Linked DNA regions of Homo sapiens: all the other regions are linked to region 2. Evidence: promoter capture Hi-C in 16 types of primary human blood cells and fetal thymus (Javierre and others, 2016). All regions are on one chromosome and are shown on one strand. The core of a region is centred on a gene start or on the middle of the fragment in contact, and the rest is flanking DNA. Distances in the headings are between cores, read along the strand shown.

What was found. The method cuts DNA at HindIII sites, captures the fragments that hold promoters and counts their contacts. A CHiCAGO score of 5 or more calls a contact.
Region 1: a contact is called between a fragment that was not itself captured here and the fragment with the promoter of NUDCD2 in region 2, in 2 of 17 cell types (non-activated CD4 T cells and total B cells). The highest score is 7.3, in non-activated CD4 T cells.
Region 3: a contact is called between a fragment that was not itself captured here and the fragment with the promoter of NUDCD2 in region 2, in 1 of 17 cell types (naive CD8 T cells). The highest score is 10.1, in naive CD8 T cells.

What each region holds. Positions count from the first base shown.
Region 1 is chr5:168,491,112-168,493,830 of GRCh38, forward strand. RARS1 (arginyl-tRNA synthetase 1) reads left to right here. Exons shown (of 15, transcript NM_002887.4): 3 at 1,548-1,736. Among named protein-coding and RNA genes, the nearest start is that of RARS1, 6.0 kb to the left of the region's middle. RefSeq lists an enhancer at 1-58. The HindIII fragment of the contact is 6,048 bases long and covers 1-2,719 here.
Region 2 is chr5:163,458,788-163,461,487 of GRCh38, forward strand. It overlaps NUDCD2 (NudC domain containing 2), which reads right to left and starts at 1,315. Exons shown (of 4, transcript NM_145266.6): 1 at 1,075-1,315. The coding sequence starts at 1,263. It overlaps HMMR (hyaluronan mediated motility receptor), which reads left to right and starts at 1,845. Exons shown (of 18, transcript NM_001142556.2): 1 at 1,845-1,951. The coding sequence starts at 1,906. RefSeq lists enhancers at 1,032-1,281, 2,032-2,091 and a silencer at 1,612-1,701. The HindIII fragment of the contact is 3,644 bases long and covers 586-2,700 here.
Region 3 is chr5:168,474,217-168,476,916 of GRCh38, forward strand. No RefSeq gene overlaps it. Among named protein-coding and RNA genes, the nearest start is that of RARS1, 11 kb to the right of the region's middle. The HindIII fragment of the contact is 2,470 bases long and covers 157-2,626 here.

The DNA of each region.
Region 1 (2,719 bases), core at 198-2,697, 5.0 Mb after region 2:
GGGCAACAGAGCAAGACCCGGTCCCAAAAAAATAAATACATAAAAATAAACAAAAAATTGACATTTATTATAGCAGGTTTTGGGTATAAGATCATAATCTAGGCCAAGTGTGGTGGCTCATGCCTGTAATCTCAATGCTTTGGGAGGCCAAGGCAGGAGGATGTCTTGAACCCAGGAGTTCAAGGTTACAGTGAGCTGTCATGCCACTGCACTTTAGCCTCAGCAGAGTGCACAGTGAGATCTTGTCTGTTACCCCCAACAAAGAAGAGAAAAGGATCATATCCAAGTAAATTTGGCATTTGCTGTTGGAAATCTTTAGATTGGGAAAAATGTATCTTCCTTGTTTTAAGTATGTTACCACAGAGAGGAGTCAATTATTGATTAGCTACAAACTTGAAATCAGGTTTTTTAGTGAATTTAAGAATATAATTTCTTCATATGATAGAGAGGGCTGATGAGGGGAGCATAAAACTTGGACTGTCCATTCCAATAGACCTGAGTTTGAATCTGGCCTTTTCCACTTATTCTGTCTTGTCTTTGACAAGTGACTTATCTGTAGCCCACATAGAAATAGTGATAATAGTAACAAGCTCGATTTTATTATGTAGATGGAATAAGATAATGCATATAAATAAAGCATTTGGTTCAAATCTTTGCATACTCAAGTATTAACTTTTGTTATTGTCATTATTTTATACTGTTGACATTTTGATGAATATAAATTTGTGATGAACATAAAATTGTGATGAACATGTTGATGAACATAAAATTGACAAACATAAAGGTGTATAGGCAGCATGTTTATCTTCTATTAAAAGCATATGTGTCATTCACCTTTTTTTTTTTTTTTTTTTTTTTGCTAAACTGCTGTATGGCAAGTACAGTGCTAGATGCCAGGGACAGGGAAGAGAGCCATGAATTAAGCACTTTGTGTGCATCCAGCAGTCTAGTGGTAGAGACAGATAGTTTTGTGAGGGTATGATAAGTGCAGTAATAGAGATAATTATATGCCATCTTAAATGACTATATTCCATGGGAAAACAGGAGGTAGTAGGTCTCATAACAGTAAAACAAAACTACTGGCTTTTCTGGTATATTAATATTACCTGCTTTGCTCCCTTTTATTTCATGCCTTGAAGAGGTCAACATTTTGATGGACATCATGTATTTTTTTGTTTGTTTTTTGTCCATTGAGTTTTCACTTCCAATATTTGATGTGAAATAAATTATTTTCTCAGAGATTTGGAGAAGCTGAGAAAAGGATTCCATCAGCTCTTTTAACTCCCTCCTCCCAGTTTCTGTTCTGCTAAAACAAATGCAAAAAGTAAGACCTCAGGGCATTTCCCATGGATGTCTTAGATGCCGTGGGATGGACTTGTCCTGCTGCATGTCTTAGCAAATCCCAGATTGAGGGCATCACACCATAAGTACGTTTTCCCTTTTGGTTCTTAAGATATTTGGAGGTTTATACTCAAAATATTTGGAGACATCTTGTATGATGATGGTTTTACGTACATTATTGACATGTTTCCATTCTTTTCCTACAGAGTCTTCAGGCAGAAAGGAACAAACCAACTAAAAATATGATTAACATTATTAGCCGCCTACAAGAGGTCTTTGGTCATGCAATTAAGGCTGCATATCCAGATTTGGAAAATCCTCCTCTGCTAGTGACACCAAGTCAGCAGGCCAAGTTTGGGGACTATCAGTGTAATAGTGCTATGGGTATTTCTCAGGTGATGTATTGTCATGACTCTTGGCTGTTTGATTTTTTTAAGTATTATTATCATCATTGCCATTTACAGAAATAATACTATTACAAGTTGTATCCTTAGTGAAAAGGACATTTGCCACAGTTTGAAAAACTTGAGAAAGGAGTTGGGGGGGTATATGTTTTAACTTTTTTAGGCACAATTTTTAAGGTTTGGTTAAATTTTATATGTATTCTCAATATTTAAGGGCAATCATTGGTACTCTTTTGTTTAGGTATTTCCCTCCTGCTGTGTCCAGGATTGCTGTGTGGTGGTGATGAGTGCTGGGAGGTGAAAAATTAAAATAAGCCATTTACCAGTCAGCATCCCAATTAAATATTTGATGTAACTGTGATCTTTGAGCCAGGCTTATATATTCATTTTCAAGCAGAGGAGTTCCCCATTTTAAATAGAGGCATTGTCTGATGTGTTTATGGTTAACTGCATCTGGCTTGGGTCTTTCTGTTTTCCTTTCTTTGCTGAATTGGAAGGGGTTACTCTGAAGAGTCCAGGTCTTACAGTGTGGTTTATTTCTCAAGTGTGAATATTGCACACCTTCATGGCTTGAAAATTAGAAATGTAAATATGCTGGAACCAGACTTCATAACTGTAGACTTTGTTATGTCATCATTAAAAAGTTCGAGGTGTTGTAATCCCAGCTACTAGGGAGGCTGAGGCAGGAGAATTGCTTGAACCCAGGGGCGGAGGTTACAGTGAGCCGAGATCACACCACTGCACTCCAGCCTGGGCAACAGAGCGAGACTCCATCTCAAAAAAAAAAAAAAAAAAAAATAGTTCCAGGTATTTGTGTGTAACGTATTTGGAAATAGAGATCATGTAGTGTGGGCACTTTCTATGCCTCTTGGCACTATTGATACTTTAATCTGTCATTCATAATGTGATTGGACTTCTCTGCTTCTGCCTTTTGATGGTTCTTAACGTAAAATGCATCTCGTGCCTTGTCAGGT
Region 2 (2,700 bases), core at 65-2,564:
TTCCGAAAGTTACTGGATTTACTAATTTATAATCGTAATCTAAAACCATTGTTGAGGAAACTATGAATTGTACAATTCAGAAAAGTAACTGAGATCCAAGCTGACATAATGTCTTTCACACGAATCTTGAGGCACTCAAAGCACCTCCATATACTGTAATATATATAATAGCTAATAGCTAACATATAGTATGAACTTATTACATACCAGTGAATACTCCAAGCTCTTCATACACGTGAATACCATGTTAAGCTCAAAACAATCCCATGAGAAGGGTACTATAACTACCTTATCTTGTGGATAAGGAAGATATAGAGACACTGAACAATCTCTCGCCCAAGTTTACAAAACTAGGAAACAAGTAGTCTCCCTTCACCATATTACACTGCCATCAAACATCTTGGGCATCTAACCTGAGAACTAAATCTAATTTCAACCTGTTAGTTTAATTATACACTTAACAAAGAAAAAGCGGGTCCAGATCCAAAGAGCATTGGTGAAAAGAAATAAAAGGAGTACTACTTATTTTATGCACACACCTCTTCACCACCTGCTTGACCACTCCACAAACATGCAGGATTTTCAAGCTTTTAGATGAGAAAACTAATCACCTGACATCATCTCTAAATTCTCTGCCCGTTATTCTATCCCTATTTTCTTTGTTGTCCTTTCCTATATTTATCTATTTATGAATTACGCTTCCGTACAGGAGCTTAACCTCTCCACTGCAGGTACGTTATCTGTTGTCTTCCTGCCTGTCTTCAGTGCACGGAAGAAATATTTGTTCCTTTAGCAACCTAGTTAATCTGTTCCCAGCTGAAGCCCGTCAGAGAAGCAGAAGCAGCAGTCTTAGTTTGAAAACTAAACACGAAAATAGGCTCCTCAAATTTCCACAACTCAGCACCTGCCCTGAAGAGGCGGGGGCTCTGACCAGACCCAAACCTGGTCAGTGTTATCCTCTTTCTCTTTCTGCCAGCCACAGGAGCCGTCGGGACACCCAACAGTCGTTCAGGGAAACGGGGCTGGGGGCGTCTGGGAAGAGGAAACTGAACACAAGCCCCGAGCTGCCGCTACCTTGAGGATCTCGCGGCCGCCCACCGACAGCGCCACATGCCGGCTCTGGAGGCCGCACTGGATATCCTGGGCGCGCGTGCCTGGCGGCACCTGAACTTCAATGAACACCTCCTCCAAGGTCTGGTACCACTGGCCCCACGGGGTCCCGCACGGTACCACCCCACTCCGCTCCTCAAACGGGGCCGACATAATCCAGTCCCTCCCGGCCGCGGCCGCACCAGGCGGAGCCGAGCGCACGCGCGGAATCCCACGCTTAGGCTACGCCTCGGCCTCTCCGCTCGGGTCACTGCGCATGCGCAGGAACGCAAGCTAGCGCTTTGGTGTGCGTGTTCGTTTTTCCCTTTGAATGGCCGTTTACGGCACCGGCAGGCCCCGGATGAAAGAACTGAAATCCAGAAAAGTTCACATGCAACGAACAATGGGACAGAATTGGAACCAGTGAAGCCGGAACTCACTACACCGTCCCCTAAGTGACGCCAAAATGCACTTTCTAACGTCTCCGGAGGGAAGTGCGCTTGCGCAAATGCTAGGTTACACTTGAGTAACTCCGGGAATGACTGGGTGGGTGGGGCGGGGAACAGTAACGGTCTCCTATTGGATGGCAGCCTAAACTCGCAGGCCAGCTAATTGGACGCAATCAGAACCCAGCATTCTTTCTTCGTGTTCCTGTGCGGGATTGGTGTGCCCAGGGGTTTGGCTTTCCAATTGGCTAACGCCGGGGTGGGTGGGGAATGTGGGGAGATTTGAATTTGAAACCGGTAGGGAGTGATAATCCGCATTCAGTTGTCGAGGAGTGCCAGTCACCTTCAGTTTCTGGAGCTGGCCGTCAACATGTCCTTTCCTAAGGCGCCCTTGAAACGATTCAATGACCCTTCTGGTGCGTAAGGGGGAAAGAGCTGGGGGACGGGAGACGCCCTAACGCCCTTTGCCTCTTTCAGCTCCCTTCTTGGGAGGCAAGCAGGAGGCGATTTTAGGGTCGGGCTGGGGCTCATTCAGTTGATTGATTTTTCTCAAATATGCTCTAAGCATCTGTTACATGCCAAGCACTAATCAGGATGCTAAGGATACCGCAGTGAAACAGTCTCCGCCCCGTGGGGCTTACATTCAGGCGGGGAATACTGTCAATAAACAGCGGTAATGGAGAAACTACAGCAGGGCGAAGGGAATGGACCCGAGACGTTGGTAGCTACTTGATTTTCAAGTCCGAGAGGGCCTCACTGATAAGAACACTGGAGTATTACTTGTAGTCTGAACTTGTGCATTTCTTTTGTGTATTCCATTTGGGCATAAAAGAAGGAAGATTAGTAAAGGCAGTTTATGGGTGTAAAATTAGAGCAGCAGCACTTATTGAAAACATAAACAATGAAGTTATGGCTGATATTGACCACTTATACCTCAAGCACCGTACTAAGGCTTTACATCGATTATTAGTTATGTTAATTTCCCACCAACTCTAAGGGGTAATCCTATTATTATTTTATTGATAAAAAGACTGAGACTTAAATTTGCTCAGTGCTACATTACCAAAGTGACCGGACTGGAATATGAACCCAGCCCCCATCGTGTGCTCTTAACACCGCAATGCACAGCACAGTAACCAGGAAGCCTTAGCTGTGTTTGGTAGGC
Region 3 (2,700 bases), core at 142-2,641, 5.0 Mb after region 2:
GCCTCAGCCTCTCAAAATGCTGGAATTACAGGCGTGAGCCATGGCACTGGCCTGAATAAATGTATTTAGGAGAATGTGGTAAGTAATAAATTTGCAACCAACCACAGAGTAGCTGATAAATATACATGAAGCTAATTAGAGTAACAAAAGAACACAAGCTTGCCATTGCAGTACTTTTTACCATTTGCATTTATGTATTTGATTCTTTAGTTTTATCTGTCTGTTTATTAGGATGTTGGAGACACAGGGCAGGCACCATGCATATCTTGTTCACTATTTTAGCCCTGGGGCCATGACAGTCCCTGACAGATGGCAGACCCTCCAACACTTGTTCAGTGAGTGAATTAAGCTAAGACCAAAGTTCTAATTCCAATCCTGCCAAGTACCAACACGAATGTGGGCACACACTTCCAAATGGTTTTCAACCCTCTCTGCAGGCTGCTATGACAACAAGTGACTGGATGCACTGTTTCCCCAGAGGGAGGCATAAGTGTATGATTGGTGACAGGAGATAATGTTAGGTGGTACATGGGTGAATTTTTATATTTATAGTCATATTTGTTTTAATATACATAATATATAACTTGTCCATCAAACCCATGCTTTCACAGATATTACTGTTTAAGATGAGGATAAGTAAATATTTAAGTTAATAAAGTGAATCAATTTAAAGAAAAATATGTACTTAGGTGAAACAAAGAAATGGCAAAAATAGTGATGATGAAAACATCTGGGGCCGGGCGCAGTGGCTCACGCACCCTGGGTGGGCCTTCCCACCACCCTTGTGATAGGAGGGAGAGGGAAAAAGAGAGGTTTTCAAGGATCAGGGGACCTGCCTCCTCCTAGGTCAGGGCTTTGTCTCAGCCCCACCCCTCCCTAGGAGAGTCACCGTGTGCTTGGGGGCATTCTCACTGTGCATAGGAGAGTGCACAGCTGAGGCAGGAGAATTGCTTGAACCTGGGAGGCGGAGGTTGCAGTGAACCGAGATCGTGCCACGGCACTCCAGCCTGGGCAATGGAGTGAGACTCTGTCTCAAAGAGCGTGCCCTCTCCCAGAGCCTCAGGATGGGAGCCTAGTGTCTTTTTTGAAAAAAATTAGACTTAGTTTTCAATTATTATGTAAGTAATTGATACACATCATTAAGTAAAAATGATAGGAGGCCATGGTTTTGGACTAAGCTCCTGCACCAGGCCCCAACAGACCAGACTAAAAATCAGAATGGAGTCACCCATGCTCAAGTTTCATGTCACCAAACCTAAACTAAGTTACCTGACCTTCAGGGAAATCGGGAGAGAGAGAACACCCAATTTCCCAGACAGGTCCTTTGAAGCCTTCAGTCCTTCAGTCATGAAGAAGTTCCCTCTGCCTTAATCCTTACAGGCAAAAAGGTAGCCTGAAGGAAACTGTCGTTAACTACGCAGTTATTTTTCTATTATTCTATTATGTCCCTATCTTATGAGAAAAGTAACTTTGAAAGGACTAATACATCCTGTTCTTAGCTTCTGCTTCCTTCAGGCCTTCTCTATGAAGCCAGCCTATTCTGCTCAGCGCTTTGGAACACTGATTCTATTTCATGGACCGAAGCATTGCCCAATTGTAGAATTGCAATAAAGCCAACTGAGATCTTTAAATTGGCTATAATTCATCCTTTGGCAATACAGTAAAAAAAAAAAATTCTCACAATTCTGTAGAAGGGTATGAGATATACAATAAAAGACACCCCCACCCTCTGCAATCTACCACTCACAGTAGTTTATCTGGTGGTTTCCACTTTTTAACAATGGTCTGGGCCAGGTGCAGTGACTCACTCCCGTAATCCTAGCACTTTGGAAGGTCGAGGCGGGCAGGTTGCCTGAGCTCAGGAGTTCAAGACCAACCTGGGCAACACAGTGAAACCCCTGTCTCTACTAAAATACAGAAGAAATTAGCCGGGTGTGGCGGCATGCGCCTGTAGTCCCAGCTACTCGTTTGGCTGAGGCAGGAGAATTGCTTGAACCCATGAGGCAGAGGTTGCAGTGAGCCGAGATCATGCCGCTGCACTCCAGCCTGGGTGACAGAGCGAGACTCTGTCTCTAAAAAAATAAATAAATAAAATTTAAAAATAAAATAATGCTCAGTAGGCCAGGCACGGTGGCTCATGCCTGTGATCCTAGCACTTTGGGAGGCCAAGGCAGGTGGATCACCTGAGGTCAGGAGTTTGAGACCAGCCTGGCCAATATGGTGAAACCCCTTCTCTACTAAAAATACAAAAATTAGCCAGGCGGGGTGGTGTGGGCCTGTGGTTCCAGCTACTTGGGAAGCTGAGGCAGGAGAATTGCTTGAACCTGGGAGGCGGAGGTTGCAGTGAACCAAGATTGTGCCACTGCACTCCACCTCTGGGCGATAGAGTGAGACTCTGTCTCAAAAATAAATAAAATAAAATAAAAATGGCCTGTATTATTTTTATTCATCATCTTCAGTAAGACCTCTCCACTCATCACCATAAAGATGAGGACATTATGGCACATACTTACCCTTTCTCCTTCCCAGCCACAACTTCTAATTTTTCTTAGTTACATTATTATTTTTATATAGTTTAAAAAAGGGTATCACATTTACGCACTGCTCTGTAATCATGTAATCCTAAAGCTTCCTCTGCTGTGAGTTGATTTAGAAAGTTAAAAACTAGTAAACAGCATTTACAGATTGATGGGGAAATCA